Regions from separate parts of the Homo sapiens genome. Here region 2 is linked to region 1. Evidence: promoter capture Hi-C in 16 types of primary human blood cells and fetal thymus (Javierre and others, 2016). All regions are on one chromosome and are shown on one strand. The core of a region is centred on a gene start or on the middle of the fragment in contact, and the rest is flanking DNA. Distances in the headings are between cores, read along the strand shown. Region 1 holds the start of MLNR (motilin receptor). Region 2 has its middle 16 kb from the start of RCBTB1.

What was found. The method cuts DNA at HindIII sites, captures the fragments that hold promoters and counts their contacts. A CHiCAGO score of 5 or more calls a contact.
Region 2: a fragment that was not itself captured here is called in contact with the fragment with the promoter of MLNR in region 1 in 1 of 17 cell types (megakaryocytes); the score reaches 5.0 in megakaryocytes.

What each region holds. Positions count from the first base shown.
Region 1 is chr13:49,217,752-49,224,552 of GRCh38, forward strand. It overlaps MLNR (motilin receptor), which reads left to right and starts at 2,587. Exons shown (of 2, transcript NM_001507.1): 1 at 2,587-3,487; 2 at 4,289-4,626. The coding sequence starts at 2,587. The coding sequence ends at 4,626. RefSeq lists silencers at 2,017-2,273, 2,210-2,469, 2,540-2,619. The HindIII fragment of the contact is 8,957 bases long and covers 1,063-6,801 here.
Region 2 is chr13:49,598,649-49,605,449 of GRCh38, forward strand. No RefSeq gene overlaps it. Among named protein-coding and RNA genes, the nearest start is that of RCBTB1, 16 kb to the left of the region's middle. The HindIII fragment of the contact is 2,105 bases long and covers 3,418-5,522 here.

The DNA of each region.
Region 1 (6,801 bases), core at 1,337-3,836:
GAGGAAGAAAAAGTGGAAACTGTGAGTACAGAAACTATTTTGAGGAGTTTTGCATGAAAATGATCCAGGAGAGAAAAACTGATGACAAGAGAGAGAGAAAGAGAATTGACGCAGTGATGTCTGGAGGAGGAGAAAGGAGCACTTAAGGGGCAGAGCTGACTTCAGCTGCAAGTACCACCAACTGTCCCAGGGGAGCACGAGCAGAGGTGGGGGTGTGGTAGTTATCTTCAGAGAAACAGGGTGCAAGGAAACCTCCCAAAGGAAGGGGTGGTGGGTGTTGGGTCTAAGGAGAGAGGAGGGGGTATAAACCAGCAGCCTGGTGGTGGGAGAGTGAATGAGGTCAGGTGAGAGTTGGGAAGGCCGGGGGAACGAAGCACCCCGCTAGAGGTTGTGCTTTCAAGTGAAACAACGCCATGTGAGAGCAGGCAAGGAGTAGGCAGGGAATTCGGCTTCACCAGGGTTGTGGTGCTCTTGGTGGATGGACGAGGCTGACAATGGAGAAAAGAGCAAGGGAGTCGAGGGCGTCTGTGTGGGAGTGATGGCGACTGCCCGTGGAATTTACGTTGGGTAAAGGAAGAAAGTGAAGACCTGGGGCAGGCAAGGGACCGGGAAAAGGAAGGAGGAGCCAGCGATGGAGGTCGCAGTGGGTTGAAGGATTACCGGAACTGAGGTGCTAGGGGAAGAGAGCTAAAAAGAGAGCGGGCGGAGGTCAGAAAGAGGGCTGACTGAAGTGGAGGTGGAGGAAGGCTGGCAGGCAACCGTGAGGTGTAAGTTCCGTCGACAGGCGCGGCTGAGATCGGGTGGAGAGCAAGGTCATAGGTGGAAAGGAGGTCAACAAACTAGAGGCCAAGGCATTCCAAGACTCGGCATGGGTGTGAACGGCCGCAGATGCAGTGCTTCAAAGAGAGCGCAGGCACCTGTCCCTCAGGGACTACGGGTGACCACGGAGGAAAGCGCTAGGGAGGGCGGTTTTAGGACCGCTGGAAACAGCAGCGATGAGGGAGGCGACAGGTGTCCCTCCTCCAAGCTCACAGTCTGCATGTGAGAGAGAACTGCAGGAGAAGCTTGCCCTAGGCAAAGCCAGGTGTCAGGTCCAGAATCGAGACTCCAGAGAAGAGGTTGAGGATTTAAGCCACTGAGGGGGTGGAGCTGGGCAGTGAGTAGGACGTCAGGCTTGCAAGCTCTGGGATTAGGCCGACCAGAGCCCATATCCCAGTCCCGCCTCTTACTGCCTGCTTGATCTCAAGCAAGACCGCTTTGTTCATGGGCGAAAGGAGCGCCCCGGGCCATGAGGATTAAATGGAGAGCACAGGGCCAGATCCATCTAAATTCTCAGTAAGTGTTAGCTATTGTTATTAAGACCACACCGAACAGACTGAACATCCGTTTTAGCCCCTTTCCCCAATTTTCGTTCTTTCCGGTGTTGACAAATCCTCTAGTTTTTTAAGTTTATAAAACATGTTGTACATAAGAATGACATATCACATGTGAAAGTACTCTAGTGTCCACGTAAATATTTGTCTTGTTCTTTATAATAAGTAAACATGCTCACGGATCCTTGAAATTATCTGGTCACTGCCGGGCGCGGTGGCTCACGCCTGTAATCCCAGCACTTTGGGAGGTCGAGGCGGGTGGACCACCTGGGGTCAGGAGTTCGAGACCAGGCTGGCCAACATGGCGAAACCCTGACTACACAAAAAACACAAAATTTAGCCGGGGCTTGGGCGCTCCTGTGCTCCCAGCTACTCAGGAGGCTGAGGTGGGAGGACTGCTTGAGCCTGGGAGGTCGAGGCTGCAGTGAGCTGTGATCGCGCCACTTAAACTCCAGCCTGGACGACAGTGAGACCCTGTCTCAAGAAGAAAAAAAGAAAGAAAGAAAGAAAAAAAGAAAAAAAAGAAATTATTTGGTCAATTATATGGTCAGCTCCCTCCACCACTCGCGAATTTACAGAAGAGGAGAACTGGGCTGGGCGAGACCAGGACTAGCCCAAGATTACACAAGTTACTCGGTTGTAGAGCCAGGATTAGACAGGAGAGGCTCTAGATTCTGGTCTAGACTCCCCTCCTATTATTTAGCATTATGGCTTCCTGAGGATTACCATGAGCCCTCCTCCACCGTCAAGCGGCAGCTACCAGCCACCAGACCAGATCCCTTCGAAGGTGCCCGGAGTACCAGACTGACAAAAGCGCCCGTACAGTGCTCAGTCCTGTAACCAAAGCTGTCTAGGGTGCAGACATCGCTCACCGGACCGGGTAGGGCTCGTGCGCTAAGGGCGCCGGGTATTCCAGTTAGTGGAGAGGGAAGCGCCCTGGAACTGCATGGGCCCGGGAGAGGGCGCGGGAGCGGAGCAGGGCCGGGCCGGGGCGGGCCGCGGCCGTGGGCGGAGACTGCGCGCAGCTAGCTCGGGAGCGCCTCGGAGCCCACCCCGCAGAGCCGCTTCTCGCGCCCCGCAGCGCAGCGCAGCGCTCCGCCGTCTGACCTGCCGCGCCCGCAGCGTGCGGGCTGGGAAAGGAGGCGCTCACCGAGAGGGACCACGCGCCAGGCTCCCAGCCCGACCCGGGACGCGGCGGCCGCGCGGAGCACCCATGGGCAGCCCCTGGAACGGCAGCGACGGCCCCGAGGGGGCGCGGGAGCCGCCGTGGCCCGCGCTGCCGCCTTGCGACGAGCGCCGCTGCTCGCCCTTTCCCCTGGGGGCGCTGGTGCCGGTGACCGCTGTGTGCCTGTGCCTGTTCGTCGTCGGGGTGAGCGGCAACGTGGTGACCGTGATGCTGATCGGGCGCTACCGGGACATGCGGACCACCACCAACTTGTACCTGGGCAGCATGGCCGTGTCCGACCTACTCATCCTGCTCGGGCTGCCGTTCGACCTGTACCGCCTCTGGCGCTCGCGGCCCTGGGTGTTCGGGCCGCTGCTCTGCCGCCTGTCCCTCTACGTGGGCGAGGGCTGCACCTACGCCACGCTGCTGCACATGACCGCGCTCAGCGTCGAGCGCTACCTGGCCATCTGCCGCCCGCTCCGCGCCCGCGTCTTGGTCACCCGGCGCCGCGTCCGCGCGCTCATCGCTGTGCTCTGGGCCGTGGCGCTGCTCTCTGCCGGTCCCTTCTTGTTCCTGGTGGGCGTCGAGCAGGACCCCGGCATCTCCGTAGTCCCGGGCCTCAATGGCACCGCGCGGATCGCCTCCTCGCCTCTCGCCTCGTCGCCGCCTCTCTGGCTCTCGCGGGCGCCACCGCCGTCCCCGCCGTCGGGGCCCGAGACCGCGGAGGCCGCGGCGCTGTTCAGCCGCGAATGCCGGCCGAGCCCCGCGCAGCTGGGCGCGCTGCGTGTCATGCTGTGGGTCACCACCGCCTACTTCTTCCTGCCCTTTCTGTGCCTCAGCATCCTCTACGGGCTCATCGGGCGGGAGCTGTGGAGCAGCCGGCGGCCGCTGCGAGGCCCGGCCGCCTCGGGGCGGGAGAGAGGCCACCGGCAGACCGTCCGCGTCCTGCGTAAGTGGAGCCGCCGTGGTTCCAAAGACGCCTGCCTGCAGTCCGCCCCGCCGGGGACCGCGCAAACGCTGGGTCCCCTTCCCCTGCTCGCCCAGCTCTGGGCGCCGCTTCCAGCTCCCTTTCCTATTTCGATTCCAGCCTCCACCCGCCGGTACTTCCCATCCCCCGAGAAAACCATGTCCTGTCCCCCAGGAGCTCTGGGGGACCCCAGGGCGCTTTGAGGGTGGGATCCCCGGATCCGATTCAGTAACCAGCAGTGCTTTTCCAGAGCCTCTGAGACCAGAAAGGAGAGTTGGTAATTCTTAATCCAACCACCTGTTAGATGCCACAGATGAGGAGTCCTCACAGTGCTCTTGAGAAGACGAGGGAGATTTCATTAAGCTAAAATTTTTTATTTAATGTTAAGTGATGCTGAAGGCTAAAGTAAACCTTGCTCGTATCAAAAAGTAAAGATTGTGCAGACCTGTTGTAGAATTCTTTTCAACAGAGAACAGAAAACTTGTCTCCGAAGTGGGTTTGTGGAAGGAAGCCTGCCAAGGCGGCTTGTTCAGAGAAATTGCTCCTTCTGGTTTATGTCCAGCCTTGATAACACATATGGGAGCCTACTATGCAGTTTTAAAGCAAGTATCCATGCAGCCTGCAGCCTGGTCATTTTTTCTGGGGTGAGGATCTGCCTAGGTAGAAGTTTTCTCTAATTTATTTTGCTGTTACTTGTTATTGCAGATGGTTCCTTGTCGGGGTGGGGGGTTTATTTGCTTCCCAATGCTTTTGTTAATCCCGGTGCTGTGTCTTATGTTGCAGTGGTGGTGGTTCTGGCATTTATAATTTGCTGGTTGCCCTTCCACGTTGGCAGAATCATTTACATAAACACGGAAGATTCGCGGATGATGTACTTCTCTCAGTACTTTAACATCGTCGCTCTGCAACTTTTCTATCTGAGCGCATCTATCAACCCAATCCTCTACAACCTCATTTCAAAGAAGTACAGAGCGGCGGCCTTTAAACTGCTGCTCGCAAGGAAGTCCAGGCCGAGAGGCTTCCACAGAAGCAGGGACACTGCGGGGGAAGTTGCAGGGGACACTGGAGGAGACACGGTGGGCTACACCGAGACAAGCGCTAACGTGAAGACGATGGGATAACCAGCACGGCCAAGCCAGGCTCCTCTTGCAGTTCTAAGACTTTGGGGAAAACAGGTGTGTAGAGAAATAAAGACTGCAAATGAGGAACAGATCCTGTTAAGAAGAATGGAAAGAGGGTTGCAGTTGTGCCAGTTGGTTAAGAAATAGACCGCATGATTTATTTAACCAAGGTATGAAATGTAACTGCGCCAACCTTTCTAGTTTCCTTCCCACGTACCTCCTAAGGAAGGTCGATTTTACCATCATGAAATCCCACATCTCAAAGTGTGCTCTTGTGTGATGGTTTCATGAAGTCCTCATTCTCCTACTCTTCGGAAAGATGATTGTTCATTTTACAGTTAAATGATACACAAAGATGCTGCCCCAAAACTGCCACCTCTGAGATCATGAGTGTATTTTATGTTTTGGATGTAAATGTAACAGTACATCTACAAGGAACCAGGATAATGATAGTTTTGATCCAAGAAATGATTTAATACCTATGTATGGCTGCAAAAACTTTTAGAAGTAAAAGGAATTCTGGGTAGACTCCAGTGTTCAGGGGTCCCACCTCTCTCCAGATCACAGCAAATCATAAAGTTTAGGCAAAATAATAGCCTCTTTCAGAAGTATTAAGCAATTGTGTTGCAACCCACTTCTCCTTGACACTGCCCATGGGACCTTCCCAGTGCCACTGGCCATGGGGTGGCAAACTTTGGGCATCAACATTTGAGAGTAGAGAGCTCAGCAGGACATGGCTTTCTCCAGTGACTACAAATGACGTTTGTAAAGAGCTATTTAATATGCTTTATCTCACCTCAGCTTGGTGGGGTGAGTACTGTTGTCAACATTCCTGTTTTGGAAGTGAGTCTTGGATTGCCCAAACAGGAGCTGGTGAGCTGGAGTCTGAATCCAGTGTTTAAGTTGCTCACCCAATCCCAAGCCAAGATGCTGTCCTTACTGAAAAACGCCAGCCAATGGATTTAGTCAAGAGTGAAAGAGAACTCACTGGACATTCTGATCAACAACTCTGTAACTTTGTTTTGTTTTTTAGAGTTTAAAACACAAATATTTTTAGAGGGTTACTGCTGTCACTCAGCTCCAAAGGGCTTCACTTATGCCACCTTCTGTATGAATGGCACCCCCAAGATGTGGGCAGGGTACAGCTTTCACAGTTGTACATGGGACCTTTTTTGGGGCTTTCAGATTGATAAATTCAAACCTAAATTACAATAGGATCTTGATTTGTATGAGGAATTTGTCCTGAGACCTTCATGAATCTTCACATCTACAAATACCAGAAAAATGACAAATGCTATAACTTCAGAGTTATAAAGACAGATAGACATAAAGTCACATTGAGACTTGGAGGCTAGAGAGGCAGCTCCGTTGATTCACTGACTTGATGTCTCTGCTTCACAGCCCACAGTTTGGGTGGCTTTGGTAAATGTCTAAATTACTTTCCGCCACAGGCCACCATAGTCTCTTTTGAATAGTTAAAACTACAAAAGATGAATACATAAATAACAAGGGTCTGCCCGACATGCATTCAAAGTTCTGTTGCTTTCTCATTTTCTTAGCCAAAGCCCTAGCTCAGTCCCCAGCCCGGTCCACAATTGGCACAGGAATGAAGTCTCTCGTTTGCTTTTTCTCCTAGCTAGTGGAAGAAGCAGATTGCAGTCACTTCAGGAAGCATTCCCTAAACTGTGTTCTGCAGATTTCCAGGGATTATTGGAAAAAATGGTTCTGGGGTTAAATATGGCAGGAAAATACCACATTGTGTTCCCCCTACCACACCCTAAACATTTCACACACATAACACAATATAGCATGTCAGAGGCTCTGAGAAGTTGTCTCAACCAACATTTCCTTGACTTATTTTATCACAGAACCAACTCTCCATCTTCCCTCCCAAGAACACTTAGTAAAATCTCATGGAGTGAGAAATACTTTGGGGAGCACTGATGTAGGGGTTCTGACAGTGGAGGTGTCAGCCTGGAGCCTCCATAACTCTCTGCTTGGTAGCACTGAGTACAGCAGCTGCCACAGTCCTTCTGCTCATGGGAGCTCCTCTCTGGAGCAGTCAGGAGTGGCCACCTCCCTAGGGAAAGTCACAGCAAAGAACCTTATTAAGATGTATATAATATTTTATTTTATTTTTTTAGAGACAGGATCTCACCCTGTTGCCCAGGCTGG
Region 2 (6,801 bases), core at 3,220-5,719, 380 kb after region 1:
TCCATCTCGAAAAAGAAATAGAAATTAAAATAAAATAAAAATGTTATTGCAGTATCAAGGAAAGATGCCCACCCAAAGTCTGTCCCTTCGCACTAAACCATAGTCCAAATGCCCAAGACCTTGGAATTCCATGCCCAGACAACTCCAACCCACTTCCAAGATTTGCATGGGCCTCTTCCCTAGGTCCTTCTCCTCAACAGCAGACTCCACACACCTAGAGCCATGGGGTGGCCTGTCTGTTTGTGGGGAATGTGGACAGAGTTTGGAAGAGAAGTATCCACAAGCATGTGGGTGAAGCCCCTTGCAGTGCCAGATGAAGCCAAGATTGGAATGGAGGGAGATGAGGTGAGGGGAAAGGGGCCAGGGTGGTAATTGTGGGGAAAAGCAAGAGAGATCAGATTGTTACTGTGTCTGTGTAGAAAGAAGTAGACATAGGAGACTCCATTTTGTTCTGTACTAAGACAAATTCTTCTGCCTTGAGATTCTGTTAATCTATGACCTTACTCCCAACCCTGTGCTCTCTGAAACATGTGCTGTGTCAAACTCAGGGTTAAATGGATTAAGGGCGGTGCAAGATGTGCTTTGTTAAACAGATGCTTGAAGGCAGCATGCTCGTTAAGAGTCATCACCACTCCCTAATCTCAAGTATCCAGGGACACAAACACTGCGGAAGGCCACAGGGACCTCTGCCTAGGAAAGCCAGGTATTGTCCAAGGTTTCTCCCCATGTGATAGTCTGAAATATGGCCTCGTGGGAAGGGAAAGACCTGACCGTCCCCCAGCCCGACACCCGTAAAGGGTCTGTGCTGAGGAGGATTAGTATAAGAGGAAGGCATGCCTCTTGCAGTTGAGACAAGAGGAAGGCATCTGTCTCCTGCCCGTCCCTGGGCAATGGAATGTCTCGGTATAAAACCCGATTGTACGTTCTATCTACTGAGATAGGGAAAAACCGCCTTAGGGCTGGAGGTGGGACATGCGGGCAGCAATACTGCTTTGTAAAGCATTGAGATGTTTATGTGTATGCATATCTAAAAGTACAGCACTTAATCCTTTACCTTGTCTATGTTGCAAAGACCTTTGTTCACGTGTTTGTCTGCTGACCCTCTCCCCACAATTGTCTTGTGACCCTGACACGTCCCCCTCTTAGAGAAACACCCACGAATGATCAATAAATACTAAGGGAACTCAGAGGCTGGCGGGATCCTCCATATGCTGAACGCTGGTCCCCCGGGTCCCCTTATTTCTTTCTCTATACTTTGTCTCTGTGTCTTTTTCTTTTCCAAGTCTCTCGTTCCACCTTACGAGAAACACCCGCAGGTGTGGAGGGGCAACCCACCCCTTCAGTAATCACTCCCTACACTGCCAAGTTCCAATATGGAACCCCTAGGATTTCTAAATTCAAGGTATGGCCATCCAAGTCACTAAAAAGCTGTATCTGTCAAGATAGGAGGATAGGCTGGGTGTGGTAACTCACACGTGTAATTCCGATGCTCTGGGAGGCTGAGGCTGGAGGATCATTTGAGCCCAGGAGTTTAAGACCAGCCTGAGTTACATAGCGAGACCCCCATCTCTAAGAGAATAAAAAATATAATTCGCCAGGTGTAGTGGTGCATGCCTGTGGTCCCAGCTACTCAGGAGGCTGAGGCAAGAGGATTGCTTGAGCCTGGGAAGTTGAGGCTGCAGTGAACTGTGATTGTGCCACTGCACTCCAACCTGATGGATGACAGAATGAGACTGTGTCTTAAAAAAAAAAAAAAAGGAGGATAGAACATATTTTATTTAACAAGTTATTCGCTTGATTTCTGACTTAAAAATTTTTAGACATATGGTATCCCCCATTTGTAATTTTGCACTGGGTGCTACGGATGTTCAGGATAGCCCCGAAAGTCACGTCATCTATAAAGAAACAACAAGAGACCGAAAGCTGGTTTCTTATTTCAAACAGTAGATAATGCACAGAGGATAATGCAGTATCTTCAAAATGAAAGGGAAAATTTCTGTCGGTTTAGAATTCCCTGTCTAGTTAAACTGGTATTCAAAAGTGAGGATAAAATAAAGACATTATCAAACCAAGACTAAGAGAATTTCCCACTCACAGACCCTTGCTGAAAGAAGTCCTGAAAGATGTAGTTTATTTATTTATTTTGAGACAGAGTCTTGCTCTGTCACCCAGGCTGAAGTGCAGTGGTGCAGTCTTGGCTTACTGCAACCTCCGCCTCCTGGGTTCAAGCAATTCTTCTGCCTCAGCCTCCAGAGTAGCTGCGACTATGTATGCACCACCGTGCCTGGCTAATTTTTTCGTATTTTTAGTAGGGACGGGGTTTCACCATGTTGGCCAGGCTGGTCTTGAACTCCTGACCTCAAGTGATCTGCCCGCCTCGGCCTCCCAAAGTGCTAGGATTATAGGCATGAGCCACCACGCCTGGCCAGGATGTAGTTTAGAAAGAGGAAAAATAAACCCAGCAGAAAGGATCAGTATGTGAGGCTTAATGATGAGCAAAGAAATTACTGATTTTTAGAGGATAAGCACAGAGTGGAACTAGACTAGTACCTAGCAATCAAGTGAAAGGTGAGAGGCAAGATTCACAGTTAAAACAGTCTAAGATCTTTATGATGTAAGGTATACAATTTAAACTTTTTCAGCTATAACTTTTTAGTTTTTTTTTATCTCAGAAAAAAATATGGAATGCTTCACGAATTTTTTATTTTTTTGTGTGTGGAGATGACGGGGTCTCACTATGTTCACCAGGCTGGTCTTGAACTGCTGGCCTCAAGCAATCCTTCTGCCTTGGCCTCCCAAAGTGCTAGGACTACAGATGTGAGCCACCTTACTGGGTCTCAGCTATAAATTTTAATATTTTTAAAGTAACTATGTTAAGCAAATATGCAAAAAGAAAGAAAAAAAGTGAATAGTTAGGATGAAAGACCCCTTCCCCCAGAAAAGCAAAACAAGTTTAGTTGTTAGTACATATAAAATAGTCCTCATTTCAATATGAGAAAAGGCACTGATTTTTTTTTTTTTTTTTTGAGACGGAGTCTTGCTCTGTCGCCCAGGCTGGAGTGCAGTGGCATAATCTCGGCTCACTGCAAGCTCTGCCTCCCGGGTTCACACCATTCTCCTGTCTCAGCCTCCCGATAGCTGGGACTACAGGTGCCCGCCACCATGCCCGGCTAATTTTTTGTACTTTTAGTAGAGACGGGGGTTCACCATGTTAGCCAGGATGGTCTTGATCCCCTGACCTCGTGAACTGCCCGCCTCGGACTCCCAAAGTGCTGGGATTACAGGTGTGAGCCACCGCACCCGGCCTACTAATTTATTTTTTGTAAAACTCCTCTAACCCAAACCACTGGCTATAAAATACTACCACCTCTGCCATCATTGTCCCCCAAATACAAGTTATTTTTCATCTGTGAAGGAAGCTTTATGAGAGCTATTGCACTTTATTCTTATAAAACTCCATGAAAGATAGACATTAAAATGTTTGCAGAAATCTCATAAACTTGGCTTTTAAATGAATGAGTCAGTCATCAACAGCTATTTGCACAAAACTTTACTCTTTTCTCTGAGCAATACAAAGAAAACAGGACAGTCCCTCCCATGAAGGAGCTTAAAATCTGATTTGGCAGACGCAAGCTGTATAAACTCACCTGGAAATAAAACCTGGGATAGAAGACAGCAAATAGTAAAAGGCTGCAATTGGTATAACCCTTACATATCTTGGAAGGCTTTGACTCAATACATGAAATTTGAGCTTTAAGAGAGGTAGAATTTCGTTAGAGAAAACTGGGGACTGGCATAAGCATAAAGCACTAAAACAGAGAAAGGTGTTAGAGCCAAGACAGAAGATATTTTCAAAAAAGAAGGGTAGCTGGGTGTGGTGGCACATTTCTGTAGTCTTGTAACTGCCCAGTGGGTTCGTTTTCCTTGCTGCCCAGATAGAGCTGATTTATCCAGACAGGGGAGTCATGATACAGAGTTTAACTCACACAGAGCTGGCTGACAGGAGACCAGAGTTTTATTATTACTCAAATCAGTCTCTTCAAAGATTTAGAGACTAGGGTTTTTCAAAGACAGTTTGGTGGGTACAGGGCCAGTGAGTCGGGAGTGCTGATTGGTTGGATCAGAGATGAAATCATAGGGAGTCAAAGCTGTCCTGAGCTGAATTGGTTTCTGGGTGGGGCCCACAGGACTGGTTGATGAGTCCAGGTGGACCCATTGTTCATCAGAAATGCAAAAACCCAGGCCGGGCGCGGTCACTCACGCCTGTAATCCCAGCACTTTGGGAGGCCGATGTGGGTGGATCACAAGGTCAGGAGATCATGACCATCCTGGCCAACATGGTGAAACCCCGTTTCTACTGAAAATAAAAAAAAAAAATTAGCCGGGCATGGCGACGTGCACCTGTAGACCCAGCTACTCAGGAGGCTGAGACAGGAGAATGGCGTGAACCCGGGAGGCGGAGCTTGCAGTGAGCTGAGATCATGCCACTGCACTCCAGCCTGGGCGACAAAGCGAGACTCCGTTTCAAAAAAAAAAAAAAAAAAAAAAAAAAAAAAAGGCAAAAACCCGAAAAGACATCTCAAAAGGCCAGTCTTAGGTTCTACAATAGTGATGTTATCTGCAAGAATAATTGAGGAAGTTGCTAATCTTGTGGCCTCCACAATAATGGTTGGTAATATTTTAGCTAAGCCTGTATCTTAATAGAATCCAGGCCCCTCCCATCCTCCTAACTTGACCTTCCATTAGGTTTACAAGGGCAGTTTAGTTTTGGGGGAGGGCTATTATCGTTTAAACTATAAACTAAATTTGCCCCAAAGTTACCTTGGCCCACATCCAGGAATGAGTGAAGACAGCCAGCCTGTGAGACTGGAAGCAAGATGGAGTCAGCCATGTCAGATTTCTTTTACTGTTGTAATTTTGCAAAGGCAGTTTCAGCCCGAGCTACTCAGGAGGCTGAGGCTTCACTTGAGTCCAGGAATTCGGGCTGTAGTGCACTATCATGGTGGCTGTGAATAGCTGCTGTACTCCAGCCTGGGCAATGTAGCAGACCCAGTCTTTAATTTAAAAAAAAAAAAAAAAAGGACATATCCTAATCTGTCATGGGAGTAGAGTTAAAAAAAAAGGGGGGGGGGTAATCATTATGTGAAATACTGAGAGAAATCATTTAATGAATCATAATATGGACTGAAGTAAACACAAGGATGAAATAATTGAAAATACTGTTTTCAATATGACACCAACTTCAGTATTTTATCTCATTTCCCTTCTTGTATATGCCATTAAATTTTCAAAAAATGTAGCAAATATAAATACAAGATGTTGACTTTCTGTGAGTTACATATATGAATAGCTTACAGTTTTACTGCTTCTACATACAACTTTATTTCCTAGACTTTCTCTAGCTTAAAAAAATCCTGCAGACAAGATCACCATTATATTGCTTGTGTTTTAAGTTCAGGGCTGTAGGCTTCTGGTTTGTAATACTGAGAGAAACGCTATTAATAGTATTCCTAAAGGCATAAAGCTTTCCTCCAAACCATGACTCTCGGACCAAGGCTCCTTTCATTTTGTGGCCCTGCCATCTTCAACAAGTGGCTTCCAGGGTCTTTGCAGAAGGGGAAAGAACAAGGAGGACCACCGTGGGAGAGCTGCGTGTGAGCTTAGCCTGGAAATAGCACGCTTCTCTTCCTTTTGTTACAGTAGGTAGTAGGCAGACATGAGCAGGGCAGGAAAGCACCCCCCTACCACAACCAGGAATGTCAGGAAACCATCAGGTAATGGTCAGGCGGTTGTTAACTGTCTCTCTAAAATAATAATTGGTTGCAGCCAGCGCCAGAGAAAGGCAGGCTCTCAATAAATAGAAAACACCCGAAACTGGTGATCAGCAGCTTCCTGGTAAGATCTCAGGAGTTGGGTGAGTGGGCTCAAGCATGAAAACTAAGGCAAAATGGCAGAGTTTAACCAGTATATGACCTTCCTCTAGAACACTCAACTGGTAAGGGAAAAACGCCTCAAGTGAGCATGTGCACAGCTTCAGTAAACACACTGCACATGCGGCTCCTCCCAAGTGCTGGCAGGCCAGTGCGAATGCAGACAGCCCACCCCAAAGGAAGAACTGGGAGAAGAGATGTTACCCACTGGAAGCATGCCAGTGTATAAAGCCCCGAGTCAAAGGTCAAACTGTACACTTGAATCTTTCACGTTACCTGCTTGGCCCTCTTCCAAGTGTACTTTTTTAAAATTCCTGCTCTAAAACTTTTTAAAGACTTTCACTCCTGCTCTAAAACTTGCCTCAGTCTCTCCCTCTGCCTTATGCCCCTCAGTCAAGTTCTTTCTTCTGAGGTGGCAAGAATTGAGGCTGCTGCAGACCTGTACAGATTCACTGCTGCTAACACTTTCACATTCCACTGATCAGGACTCAGTTGCATGGCCACAGCTAACTTAAGTGAAGATGGAAAATGTGGTTTAACTGTTTGCTCAGGAAGAAAAAGAAACAGTTTAGTAAACAGTTGGCCAGTCTCTGCCATACATACGTTTTTCCCATTTAATCCTAACAACCCTATAAGATATGTGCAGTAACTTATCCCACTTTATGGATGAGGAAATTGAAATCTTTTTTACGTGTACAAATTTATGGGGTACATGTGAAATTTAGTTACATGTATATAATGTGGACTAATCAAGTCTCGTTTTTTTTGTTTTGCATTTTTTTTTGTTTGTTTTTTCTTTTTTTTGAGACAGGGTCTTGCTCATGGCTCATTGCAGCCTTGACCTCCCAGGCTTCAGCAATCCTCCTATCTC